4 separate regions of the Homo sapiens genome follow, and all the other regions are linked to region 4. Evidence: promoter capture Hi-C in 16 types of primary human blood cells and fetal thymus (Javierre and others, 2016). All regions are on one chromosome and are shown on one strand. The core of a region is centred on a gene start or on the middle of the fragment in contact, and the rest is flanking DNA. Distances in the headings are between cores, read along the strand shown. Region 1 holds the start of CNN2 (calponin 2). Region 2 holds the start of ONECUT3 (one cut homeobox 3). Region 3 overlaps ATP8B3 (ATPase phospholipid transporting 8B3). Region 4 holds the start of RPS15 (ribosomal protein S15).

What was found. The method cuts DNA at HindIII sites, captures the fragments that hold promoters and counts their contacts. A CHiCAGO score of 5 or more calls a contact.
Region 1: the fragment with the promoter of CNN2 here is called in contact with the fragment with the promoter of RPS15 in region 4 in 5 of 17 cell types (erythroblasts, total B cells, activated CD4 T cells and 2 more); the score reaches 7.2 in erythroblasts.
Region 2: a contact is called between the fragment with the promoter of ONECUT3 here and the fragment with the promoter of RPS15 in region 4, in 1 of 17 cell types (naive B cells). The highest score is 5.9, in naive B cells.
Region 3: a fragment that was not itself captured here is called in contact with the fragment with the promoter of RPS15 in region 4 in 1 of 17 cell types (naive B cells); the score reaches 8.0 in naive B cells.

The regions. Positions count from the first base shown.
Region 1 is chr19:1,025,341-1,028,159 of GRCh38, reverse strand. CNN2 (calponin 2) reads right to left here and starts at 1,552. Exons shown (of 7, transcript NM_004368.4): 1 at 1,436-1,552. The coding sequence starts at 1,498. RefSeq lists a silencer at 1,265-1,904 and an enhancer at 1,895-2,626. The HindIII fragment of the contact is 13,555 bases long and covers 1-2,819 here.
Region 2 is chr19:1,751,646-1,754,913 of GRCh38, reverse strand. It overlaps ONECUT3 (one cut homeobox 3), which reads right to left and starts at 1,408. Exons shown (of 2, transcript NM_001080488.2): 1 at 60-1,408. The coding sequence starts at 1,251. The HindIII fragment of the contact is 18,116 bases long and covers 1-3,268 here.
Region 3 is chr19:1,793,156-1,796,237 of GRCh38, reverse strand. It overlaps ATP8B3 (ATPase phospholipid transporting 8B3), which reads left to right. Exons shown (of 29, transcript NM_138813.4): 17 at 1-161; 18 at 251-363. Among named protein-coding and RNA genes, the nearest start is that of ATP8B3, 18 kb to the left of the region's middle. RefSeq lists a silencer at 114-408 and enhancers at 114-408, 1-628. The HindIII fragment of the contact is 226 bases long and covers 1,355-1,580 here.
Region 4 is chr19:1,436,732-1,439,645 of GRCh38, reverse strand. RPS15 (ribosomal protein S15) reads right to left here and starts at 1,250. Exons shown (of 4, transcript NM_001018.5): 1 at 1,218-1,250; 2 at 754-839. The coding sequence starts at 1,220. RefSeq lists enhancers at 1,007-1,226, 635-1,505. The HindIII fragment of the contact is 15,360 bases long and covers 1-2,914 here.

The sequences.
Region 1 (2,819 bases), core at 303-2,802, 410 kb after region 4:
CTGTGTGGCCCTGGGCAGCTGGAACGACGTCTCTGGGTCCCTGTGGACACCGGTGCCCTTAGCCGGCTGTATGCAGGGTGCGGCAGGGTGCCCACCCCACTGCACGGGGGGCTCTATGAATGCAGGGTGCAGATGGCCCCTTGAAGGAGGAGTCGTGAGCCCCGGGCTGGGGACCCTGGCTCAGGCCTTGACCACCCCAAGCCTCAGCCTCCCTTTTTGGCCAAGAGCTGGTCTGAAGGCTTGCAGGGGCTCACAGCGGGGAAGCAGGAATTCTCCCTCCAGTCTGCCGGCCCTGGAGTGCCGCCGGGCAGGTGGCTGTTGGGGCTGGCAGGGCCGGTGCCCTCAGAGCGTGCAGAGGCAGTTTCCCCTGCAGAAGTCAGCTGTAAGGACACCTTCCCAGGTGCCCAGTGGGCGTCGGGGGAGGGGGTGGGCGGGGACGACACCCCCCTCCAGCTGGAAGGTCCTGGAGGGTCAGGTCCCGGTCCTGTCCGTGGGTCTCGCATCACAACCCCCGCCCCCCACTTTCCCTGGGAATCCTGTCCAGGACCCTGCTGTGTGACCCTGCAGAAGTGTCTGGTCCTCTCTGAGCTAGAACCACAAGTGCTCTCTTAAAAAGTGTCTCCCCTAGCCCTGGCTTGTTTTTAATTATAGAGATGGGGTTTCGCCATGTTGCCCAGACTGGTCTCGAACTCGCTGGGCTCAAGCCATCCACCCAGCTCCGCCCCCCAAAGTGCTGGGATTACGGGCGTGAGCCCCCGCGCCCTGCCGGGCCCCAGCTCTTCTTTCGAGGCTGCAAAACCCCACATATCTCAGGGCCACCTTCAGAGAACCTCTTTGTTATCCGTTTAAATTAGTCAGATGGGAGACAAAGACCGTGCAAAGCGGCTACCGCCCCTCCCCCCAAGACACCCCCAAGGTGTCCCAGAGGCCAGGAAATTCCTGTTTGTGGGGGGGTAACACTTCTCAAAAACCACTCGGCCATGCCCCTTCCCCTCCCAAAGCTAAGAGGCCCCAAAAGCAGAAGTGTGGCCAGGAGATGACGGGGTTGCTGGGGTCCCCCCCAGACCCCCAGAGCGTTGTCGGACCTTGAACGGACCTTCTCGAAGGTTGAGTGGGCGCCAGGGGCTTCACACGTGGGGGTCCTGGGGCCATGGCGAGGGGACGAAGTCAGACCCAACTACCCCTAGATGTTGGGGGGGGGAATGGGTCACTCGTCCCCCAGATCTCAGACCTGGGTGCTCCCCAAGATTCGCGGGAGCCTCAGGGGGTGCCCGCAGACATCCCCCCACCAGGCGTCAGGGAGAACAAGGGCCCGTCCGCCCCGGGTCTCCAAGCTCCCTGCCCGGGAGGTGCCGGGGGCGCCTGGGGGCTCCTGCACCGGTCGGAGCGTGCGACGGCCGCGCTGTCGGGGGGACAAGGGGCGCCCCTCACTCACCCGGTTCTTGACCTCGGCCGACAGCCCGTACGAGGGGCCCTTGTTGAACTGCGTGGAGCTCATGGCTGGCGGGCGGGCGGCGGGACGGGGCCGCACAGGACGGGACGGGACGGGACCGCCGGGCTGGCGCGGGGTTGGGACGCGCCGGGCTCCGCGCGCCACGCCCCCGCCGCTGATTGGCCCGGAGCGCAAATGTCCTTATAAGGCCTGGAGGCGCCGAATTCCTGCGGCCGCGGACTTCCTGAGCCCCCTCGGTCGCCCCCGGACCCCCGCCTGGGCACAGCACCCCCGTCACCAGAGGCCTGGAGGGGCCCCTCGCCCCCTTTGATGCCACGGGAAACTGAGGCAGGGAGGGGCCGAGGCCGCCGGGACGTGGCACTCCTGCGGGCTCTCTGCTCAGAGCTCGTGGGCGGCTCTCACTCTTTCTCCATCTCAGACTTCTCTTCTGCCAGAAAGGGGAGGGGAGAAGGCTACCTTTGGGGCAGGAATGAGGGCCCCTCTCTGCCACTTAGAGGCGTCTAACCCCTTCCCAGGGAACTCTACTAGCTGGGAGGTGGACCAGGGAACCAGGGCAGGTTCCTCAGAGAAGGGGCCATTGGAGCTGGGGCTTTGTTGGATGAGTAGGAGTTTGTCAGTCCAAAAGAGAATAGGATTCTTACTGGGTGCGGTAGCTTGCACCTGGAGTTCTAGCTACTTGGGAGGCTGAGGCCGAAGGGGGAGGATCCGTTGAGCCCAAGAGGTCGAAGCTGCAGTGAGTTATCATCACAACATGACGCTCCAGCCTGGGCAGCAGAGCAAGAGCCTCTCTCTAAAAATAAATAAATAAATAAAAATAAAAATCCGAGTGGCTCACGCCTGCAATCCCAGCACTTTGGAAGGCCGAGGCGGGCGGATCACTTGAGGTCAGGAGTTCCAGACCAGCTTGGCTAACATGGCGAAACTCCGTCTCTACTAAAAATACAAAAATTAGCCGGGCATGGGGGCACATGCCTGTAATTCCAGCTACTGAGGAGGCTGAGGTGGGAGGATCACTTGAAGCCAGGAGGCGGAGGTTGTAGTAAGTCGAGATCGCGCCACTGCACTCCAGCCTGGGCGACAGAGCAAGACTCCGTCTTAAAAAAAAAAACAAAAAAAAAAAACACAAAAAAACCCTAATAATAATAAATTATTAAAAAGTCTCCGGGACAGTCTCCTGCCAGGCAGTGCTGGCTCTCAGGAGACCTTAGCTCTGGCCCAGCCCATGCCCAGGAAGACAGAGCTGGCACAGACCAACCCCCAACCCGGATTCCCTGTATGAGCCAGCACAGGCGGAACCCCCCCACCCCGCCCACCCTGTTTCCCTATATGAGCAAGTACAGGACAGAATGAGAGGCTTGGGGCTGGA
Region 2 (3,268 bases), core at 159-2,658, 320 kb before region 4:
GTGCTCGGGAGTCCAGAGCCGGCGCCCCCAGGGTCTGGCCCTGCGCGCCACGCTCCTACCTGCCAAGCGCAGCGCCGACATGCGCTGGAACTCTGGCTCCTGCAGCCACTTCCACATCCTGCGGAAGGTCTCGCGGCCGGATTTGAGCTTGCTCCACGGCTTGGGGTTGCGCAGCAGGTCGGAGAGCGTGCCCTGAGAGCGACACAGGATCCGCTGCGCGAAGATTGCCTGCGGGATGCTGTAGCGCTTCAGCTCCGCCGTGATGCGCTGCGCCACCTCCTTGGTGTTGATCTCCTCGGCCGCTGCGCCCGCGCTGGGGCCGCCGCCGCTCCCGCCGGGGCCGCCGCCTCCCCCGTGCGGCCCGTGCGCCCCGGCCGCCGCCAGCCCGCCCAGCGGCGCCAGCAGCCCCGCGGCGCTCCCGCTGCCCGCTCCGCCGCTGCCTGTGCCGCCGCCGCCTCCGGGCAGCCCGCGGGCCAGTGCGTCCTCCGCGCGTCCCAGCAGCGCGGCGTGCGGCTCGAAGGCGGCGGGCGGCAGCAGCTTGTCCCCAGCCAGGTGGCCTGGCGGGCCGTAGGCGGCCAGCGGCGGGGGTGGTGGCGGCGGCGGGGGCTGCGGGGCGCCGTGCAGCGCGGGCGGCAGCGCGTTGGGCAGCGGCGACAGCGGCGACCCCATGGCGGGCAGCTCCTTGCCGTAGGGTCCGTAGAGGTGGCCCACGGAGGCGAGCGCCGCCCGCTCGTCGCGCATGAGGGTGAAGCTGCCGCTCACGCTGGCCGCCAGACGCTGCGGCGGGGGTGGCGGGGGCGGCGCGGCCGCCGGGTGCGGGTGCGCGTGGGGATGGCCGCCGTGCGCCCCGGCCACGGCCGCGGCCGCCGCGTGCTGGTGGAACTTGTCGGCCACGGCCGCGAGCGGCGGCAGGTGCTGCAGGGGCGTGAGCGTCGTGTAGGTGCCGCCCAGGCCCGGCGCCTCGCAGGCCATGCCCATTGCCGGGTGCAGCGGGCCCGCCAGTTCCCCGCGGAAGTCCGCGCCGCCGCCCGCGCTGCCCGCGCCGCCCGCGCCCCCGGCGCCCCCACCGCCGCCGCCGCCGCCGCCGTCCAGCAGGCTCGCCATGCCGGCCACCAGGCCCGGGCGCCCGGGCGCCACCAGGCCGCGGTGCTGCGCCGCCGCCGAGCGCGCGTGGCCCGGGCTCAGCAGCTCGCCCGCCTGCGCGTGGGCCACGCTGTGCAGGCCCCCCAGGCTCTCCAGGCTCAGCTCCATGCTCGGCTGCCCTCCCGCCGCGCGCGCTCCTCAGCGCCGGCCCCTAGTGCTCAAGGCCGCTGCATGACTCCCGCCCGCTCCCCGGTGGCTGCGCGCGAGGCTGCCAGGCTGCGCGGCGCACGGCCCGGCCCGGCTGCGAGCGCGGCCACCAGGATGTGGCAGGGGAGCGGCCGCCGGCGCCCGGGCCCGGGTCTGACGTCAGCGCCCCCGCCCACCCGCTCCTGCCACCGCTGCCTCCCGCAGCCTCGCTCTCCGCCCGCCCCGGCCCCACTCGAGCACCAAGCAGGCCGAAGTCGGCCAGACTTGGGGCTTCGGCGTCCCTGGCCACTGCGCCCGCCCGCGCCCGCTGGGGCAGGCCGTACCCGGGGGACAGCGGGCGGGGGTCCGAGGACAGACTCTGCCCAGGTGGGGCTGGGGGCCTCGACCCAGAGTCTCCGATTTCGCGTCTCTGTGTGATTCTCTCCAGAGTCCCAGATGTGGCTTTCTGCCTGGCACCCCCAAGTCCATCTCCAGGGAGTTTCTGGGAGTGTGGCTGGACGGTCGCCTGTAATGTACGTGTCCCCCCCCCCCCCCGTTCCCTACAGACCCCCAGGAGCTAGATCCCCACTGCAAGCTCAGCTTCCCCCGACTCCCACTCACACCTACGGAGTCACAGCCCCCTTCCCACAACCTCTTTGTGGAGGAAGTGGGGGAAAAGGGAGGTCCTAAGGCTAGGTCAGGGCCTCCGTGCGCCCCAGGGGTCAGCCTCTGCCCATGTGTGGGCACCTGGGCCTCCGTTTCCCCAACTGTACAATGGGCTGCCCGGCCTCGGGGTTGCCAAAGGCCCCTTCTAATTGCAGGGCCTTTTTACAGTGCGGCCGCTGGAGGCACTGGAGCCTGGGGGTGACCACTAAGAGCCCCTGTCACCCTCCAGCCCACGGAGGCTGAGGCTGGATCCCCTGTCTTCTGAGACGTCGCTGGTGCAAACTCCTCTTTGTCCCTGGGGCTTCTCTTCAATGTGGGGGGAGGCAGGGGTCTCCTTTTTCTCAGCACCTGGAGACAGGTGAGCCCCAGGGGCCCCTGGGAACTGGGATAGATGGGGGAAGGGCTCCTATAATCAGAGAGACCCCCAGGGGACTAGATCCCGCCAGTGGGGTAAGGTCAGGGCTGCGGATCTGGAGGGGCCAGACCAGAATCTAGAGGATGCTCTGTCTTGTAGGCCAGAGGCTACGGTGCAGAGTCCAAAACCAGCCTCAGCCCCTTCCTGCTTCCCCGTTGCCTCTGCCCCCCCCACCCCCGGGGTAACGCTTGTGCACTTTCTAGAAGAGGAAGGGGATGGGTCAGGCAGTCGGTTCGCGGGAGCCCCCAGTTACCCCCATCTCAGAGGGTTGCATCAGGGCTCAAAGCTGAAGGAAGAGGGGAGGACACAGTCAGGCTGTCACTTCCCCTTTGGTGCAAACCTTCTGGGCAAACCCCGGCCCCAGCTTTGCACCTGCATCCAGATTTCCTGGCCCCTGTAGACGTGGCTACACATTGGAGATGCGATTTTCTGAACCAAGACTAGGTTGGCTCTGGAATAGGGCCCTTTCTGTGCCTCAGTTTCCCCTTCTCTGGTGTGGGAGGGGGTGCCCTCCAGCCTGCCCAGCTGGGAGCCGGAGGTGAGTCTATGCTGACCACAACAGCCAGAGAGAGAGGGGGCCTGAATGATCTGGGCCCCCAGCCTGAGGTGGCCTGATCCAAGTCCTGGGGAGGGATAGGGCTGAAGGGGACCCCTGTTAGTACTCGCTGCTTAGGGCTCGGCATTTAGTAAGTGCCTGTTATTTACCAGGCATACTCTCCTCTCTCAGCCCCAGAGAGGGGGAAGTCAAATCACAATTTTTCCGGGTGTCTCTGGCCCAAGGTGGGGGGGTGGTGGCCCTAGAGTTCCCCCCTTCATTCCTACATCTGCCCAAGTGCTAACTCCTGCCCCCTGAAGTGTCGGTCCCTAAACTTTCCAGTTCCAGGGTTCAGGTATAATTTCTGGAGTTTACATAATTAC
Region 3 (3,082 bases), core at 218-2,717, 360 kb before region 4:
CGACGAGGGGGCGCTGGTCACCGCAGCCCGGAACTTCGGCTACGTGTTCCTGTCCCGCACCCAGGACACCGTCACGATCATGGAGCTGGGGGAGGAACGGGTCTACCAGGTCCTGGCCATAATGGACTTCAACAGCACGCGCAAACGGATGTCGGTGCTGGGTGAGCCCCGCCACCCAAGCCCTGGGCCCCCCAAGGTGGGGCGGGCAGACGGGGAGCCTCTGTGGGCAGCAGGGCCTGTTCCCCCACAGTTCGAAAGCCAGAGGGCGCCATCTGCCTGTACACCAAGGGCGCCGACACGGTCATCTTCGAACGCTTGCACAGGAGGGGGGCAATGGAATTTGCCACAGAGGAGGCCTTGGCTGTGAGTCCCTTCAGGAAGGCTGGCTTATGTGTGTGTGTGTGTGTGTGTGTGTGTGTGTGTGTGTGTGTGTGTGTGTGTGTGTGTGTGTGTAGGGACAGGAGGAGGAGGAGGCAGGGGAGGAGACTGTACGGAGAAATGGAAGGCTGCAGGTACCTGGGATGGCTATGTACAGTGAGGTATGTTGTGCACTGTACAAAACACCCTCCCCCGGCAACACACAAAACACACACACACCGGCTGGGAGGCAGCTGAACTCCCAAGTGTAGCCCCCAGAGAGAGAGCGTCTTTTTCTTTTTCTTGTCTTGTCTTTCTTTTCTTTTCTTTGAGACAGAGTCTTGCTCTGTCGCCCAGGCTGGAGTGCAGTGGCACAGTCTTGGCTCGCTGCAACCTCCGCCTCCCGGGTTCAAGTGATTCTCCTGCCTCAGCCTCCCGAGGAGCTGGAATTACAGGCACACGCCAGTGCACCCAGCTAATTTTAATATTTTTAGTAGAGATGGGTTTTCGCCATGTGGGCCAGGCTGGTCTTGAACTCCTGACCTCAGGTGATCTGCCCCCTTGGCCTCCCAAAGTGCTGGGATTACAGACATGAGCCATCGCGCCCAGCCTGCCTTTTCTTTTTTGAGAGGGAGTCTTGCACTGTTGCCCAGGCTGGAGTGCAATGGTGCAATCTTGAGTCACTGCAACCTCTGCCTCCCAGGCTTAAGCTATCCTCCTGCCTCAGCCTCCTGAGTAGCTGAGACTACAGGCGCCCGCCACCACGCCCGGCCAATTTTGTATTTTTAGTAGAGATGGGGTTTCACCATGTTGCCAGGCTGGTCTCCAACTCGTGACCTCAGGTGATCCACCCGCCTCGCCCTCTCAAAGTGCTGGGATTACAGGCGTAGGCCACCGCGCCCGGCCAAGGGTGTATTTTTCTCATTTGCACAAGACGACCGTGCGGTTGAGCTGGCCCAGCTGCCAGGACACACTCAGCTCCGTCTGCTCCAAAGCTTCCCACTCTGTGGGGGAAGCCCGAACTCCTCGGCCCAGGATTTGAGGCTTTTTCTGTCCCCTGCTGACCTCTCCAGCCTGGTCTCTCTTTGGCCTCACCAAGGGACTCCCTAGGACCCAGTTTCTGGCTTGTGACTTCCCCACTCTCAGGTGCTGCCTTGGCACCTTTGCACATGCTGTTTCCTGTGCTGGGAGGGTCTTCCCTGCACCTTTGTCATTCAGAAGCTTTCGGTGTCCTCATGACTCAGCCACAAGCTCCCCACACATGGGGCCTTTCCTGCCCCACCCCCTGCCAACATGGGGCTGTCATCACCCCAGGCTGCCTCCCCCTGGTCCAGCCCTGACCCTACAGGGCCAGAGGATTCTGCGTCCAGCCTGGGGGCTCCTCACAGGTTCTGCTGGGGCCCCAGCAGCATGGAGCACAGGGCAGCGGGGTGTGTGTGGGAAGATGTCCTGTGTCCCCTGCTCTGCCAGGATGTGGGGGCACTCTGAACTGGAAGTGCGGTCACAATAATGACCTAGAGCCCAGGAGCTCAGCAGGTCAGCTTAGCTCAGCCACCCCAGGGAATGGATGGGTAAATTGAGGCCGGAAGAAGGGTCAAGGCCTGTCGGAGGCTGCCAATGTCCGTGAAGCTCCTCTGCTGTGTCAAGCCCAAGCTCTTGGACCCGTGCCCCATCAACAACAAAAGGGAAATCAGACATGGTGGCGCGTGCCTGTGGTCCCAGCACTTTGGGAGCCTGAGGCAGGAGGATCGCTTGAGTGCAGGAGGTGGAGGCTACAGCAAGCTGTGATCGCACCACTGCACTCCAGCCTGGGCGACAGGGCGAGACCCCTGTCTCTTAATAAACAGGCTGGCGCGATGGCTCACGCCTGTAATCCCAGTGCTTTGGGAGGCGGGCAGATCATTTGAGGTCAGGAGTTCGAGGCCAGCCTGACCAACCTGGTGAAACCCTGTCTCTACTAAAACTACAAAATCAGCCAGATGTGGTGGTGCAGGCCTGTAGTCTCAGCTACTCGGGAGGCTGAGGCAGGAGAATCGCTTGAACCCGGGAGGCAGAGCTTGCAGTGAGCCAAGATCGCGCCACTACACTCCAGCCTGGGCAACAGAGTGAGACTCCATCTCAAAAAATAAATAAATAAAAATAAATAAATAAACAAATTTGAGACCTAAGGCCACCCCTTGGAGCACAAAGCTGGGGGCAGGGTCGGGGGGTAAGAAGCCGTAAGGGCACCTTCCTTGGGGACCCCCCGACCACCCTTGGGGTGCCTGCTCTCTGGGCCTGCCCAGTTTCCTCCCAGCCCCTAGAGGCCCCAACCCTGGGTCTGGCCCTTGAGAAATGAGGGGCCCAAGGAAGGGGCTCAGAGAGCCAAAGTTGAGGGGTCAGAGGGAGGGGCCTGGGACTGGGGGAGCCCCAGCTGGGGAAGGCACCGGGTGGGTGGACTGCATAGAAGGTCTTGAGTGATAGTCAGAATTCGCCATGCAGGCCAGGTGTGGTGGCTTCTGCCTGTAATCTCAGCGTTTTGAGGCTCAGGTGTGCAGCTTGCTTGAGCTCTGGAGTTCGAGACCAGCCCAGGCAACATGGTGAAACCACCTCTATTTAAAAAATATATATATATACAAAGAAATTAGCCGGGTGTGATGGCATGTGCCTATGATCCCAGCTATTTGGAAGGTAGAGACAGGAGAATCACTTGAGCCCAGGAGTTCGAGGCTGCAGTGAGCTATGA
Region 4 (2,914 bases), core at 1-2,500:
AGGCGGGAGGGTCGCTTGAGCCCAGGAGTTCAAGACCAACCTGGACGACACAGAGAAACGCTGTTTCCACAAATAATCAAAAATCAAGGTCGGGCGCGGTGTTCACGCCTGTAATCCCAGCACTTTGGGAGGCCGAGGCAGGTGGATCACCTGAGGTCAGGAGTTTGAGACCAGCCTGGGCAACACTGAAACTCGTCTCTACTAAAAATACAAAAATTAGCCGGACGTGGTGGGGGGGCCCTCTAATCCCAGCTACTCGAGAGGCTGAGGCAAGAGAATCGCTTGAACCCGGGAGTGGGAGGCTGCAGTGAGCTGGGACGGAGCCATTGCACTCCAGCCTGGGCGACAGGATGAGACTCCGCCTCAAAATAATCAAAAATTAAAAAATAAAAGCGCAAGCCAGATGCCCACCACCACCCTGCCTGGAAAGGACCCAGCGACCTCCACCGCCCTTAAAATCTAAGGAGTCTAACGCAGCCCCTTATTCTAAGTCACGTGGGCTACAGACAGGGGCTACACCTTCCAACTAAGCCGCGGAAAAGTGAACAACGGGGGGCAGGTTGCAAATAAGCAAAAACCTCAACGTCTCTGGACAGTTTTCTGGGCGCAAGACCACACTCAGTTCCAAACCCGCGCGGAGACCGTGCCCGCCCACCGCCGCAGAGGCGCTTGGACCCCCGCCCCGCCGCCCTCACCCGGACAAGCCCCACCGCTGGCCCAGCCCCTGCCCGCGACCCCCGCGGCCGCCCTTACTAGGACATGTCCAGCAGCTGGTCGAGGTCCACGCCGCGGTAGGTGAACTTGCGGAAGGTCCGCTTCTTCTTCTGCTCTACTTCTGCCTGTGCGGGCGCGGATCGGGCGTCAGCGGGATCCCGACACCCATCTCCCGGGGCCACCGGGCCCGAGGACACCGCGGAAGACGCGCGGCGCCGCCGGGGACAGAAGCCCGACAGGGACACACCGCTTCGACCCGTCCCCGGGGATCACTCGCGGCTCCGGGTTACGAGGACCCGGACATGAAGGCCCGGACAGGCCTTCCCAGCCCCGCGTCGTCCCGACACCCACCAAGTCCGCCCCTCGCCCCAACATCCAGCCGCCTGCAGGGTCGGGAGCAAGCCGCCGTAGCCGCGGGGACGAACTGCGGCCCCCGCGAGACGGTCAGAGGTTGGATGGAGCCGGATAGGCCCGGCAGAGACGCGCCAAATCGCAACACTCACCATCTTGCCGGATCCTCAGAAGAGATCGCTTTGGTCCGCGCCTGCGCAGTTATCGCGAGACTGCCGGCATGTCCCGCCCCCTCGGCCGTGCGCGCACACGCGCTTCCGCTTTCCCGGCGGCGAACACGCGCCCTCTGCCGTCTGGAGGGCAAAACACAGGCTGCAGGGATTAGAGCAGCCGCCGCCTGAGGTCTGCAGAGCCGCTTCCTCCACGGAGTGGGACTTTGGACAAGTCGCCGCCCCTGTCTGAGCCTCGGGTTCGTGCTCCGTCATCTACACGATGGCACCCACATCAACAAGTATTTATGGAGCGCCTACCGTTTGCTCGTAGGTGCGGTTTGGCGGTTCAGGTCCCACTGTGGGAGGAACACGAGAATTCATTACAGATACTGGAGCAGGGACAGGGCCTCGCTGAAAAGAACCATTCCGGCTTTAACAGATAAAATTTTGTATATAAAGTTAGTAAGGACAACACAGTGAGACTGCCTCTCTACAAAAAAATACAAAAATTTGTGTACACACGGACATAAAAGAATAAAAAGTACAAAAAATTCCCAGCTACTCGGGAGGCTGAGCCTTCAGCCCAGGAGGTCAAGGCTGCAGTGAGCCGTGATCGCGCCAACGGCACTCCAGCCTGGGCGACAGAGCAAGACCCTGCCTCAAAAATAAAGTTAGGAATATCACTGGGTTTGTTAAGATATGTAAATGTAATGTGAATAATGATAGCTCAAAGAGAAGGAGTAACTAGAACTATGTAGGAGTGACTTTTTTTTTTTTTTGAGACAGAGTTTCACTCTTGTTGCCCTGGCTGGAGTGCAGTGGTGTGATCTCGGCTCACTGCAACCTCTGCCTCCTGGGTTCAAGCGATTCTCCTGCCTCAGCCTCCCAAGTAGCTGGGATTACAGGCACCTGTTACCGTGCCCGGCTAATTTTGTATTTTTAGTAAAGACACGGTTTCTCCATGTTGGCCAGGCCATGTTGGTCTCGAACTCCTGACCTCAGGTGATCCACCCGCTTTGGCCTCCCAAAGTGCTGGGATTACAGGCGTGAGCCACCGCGCCTGGCCTAGGAGTGATGTTTCTGTATCTTACTGGAATTAAGTATAAAGTTGAAGGTGACTATTAACTATGGATGTGGCACCTGGCTGGGCGTGGTGGCTTATGCTTGTAATTCCAGCACTTTGGGAGGCCGAGGCGGGCGGATCACCTGAGGTCAAGAGTTCAAGACCAAGCTGACCAACCCTAACTCTACTAAAAATACAAAAAATTAGCCAGGCGTGGTGGTGGGTGCCTGTAATCCCAGCTCCTTGGGAGGCTGAGGCAGGAGAACCGCTTGAACCCGGGAGGCGGAGGTTGCAGTGAGCTGAGATCGCACCACTGCACTCCAGCCTGGGCGACAGAGACTCCTTCTCAAAAAAAAAAAAAAAAAAAAAAAAGAAAAAGAAAAAAAAAAAGCACAAAACCTCTGGGAACCCGAGCTTAGCTGTGGCACTGTCCAGGGAGCTGAGCTCTCCCCAGCCGTCCCCACAGTCCCAAGGGAAGCCAATTACACTGTACTCAGGGAGGGCTGAGTCTCCGTCCCGAGGAGCACAGGACCTATGTGTCGGGCCCGTCCATGTTACCCATTTTCCTGCAGCAGAGTGTCCTGGCTGGAAAGCTGATTTTGTGAGTGCTGCTCTTTGGCTGGGGGAGCTAATG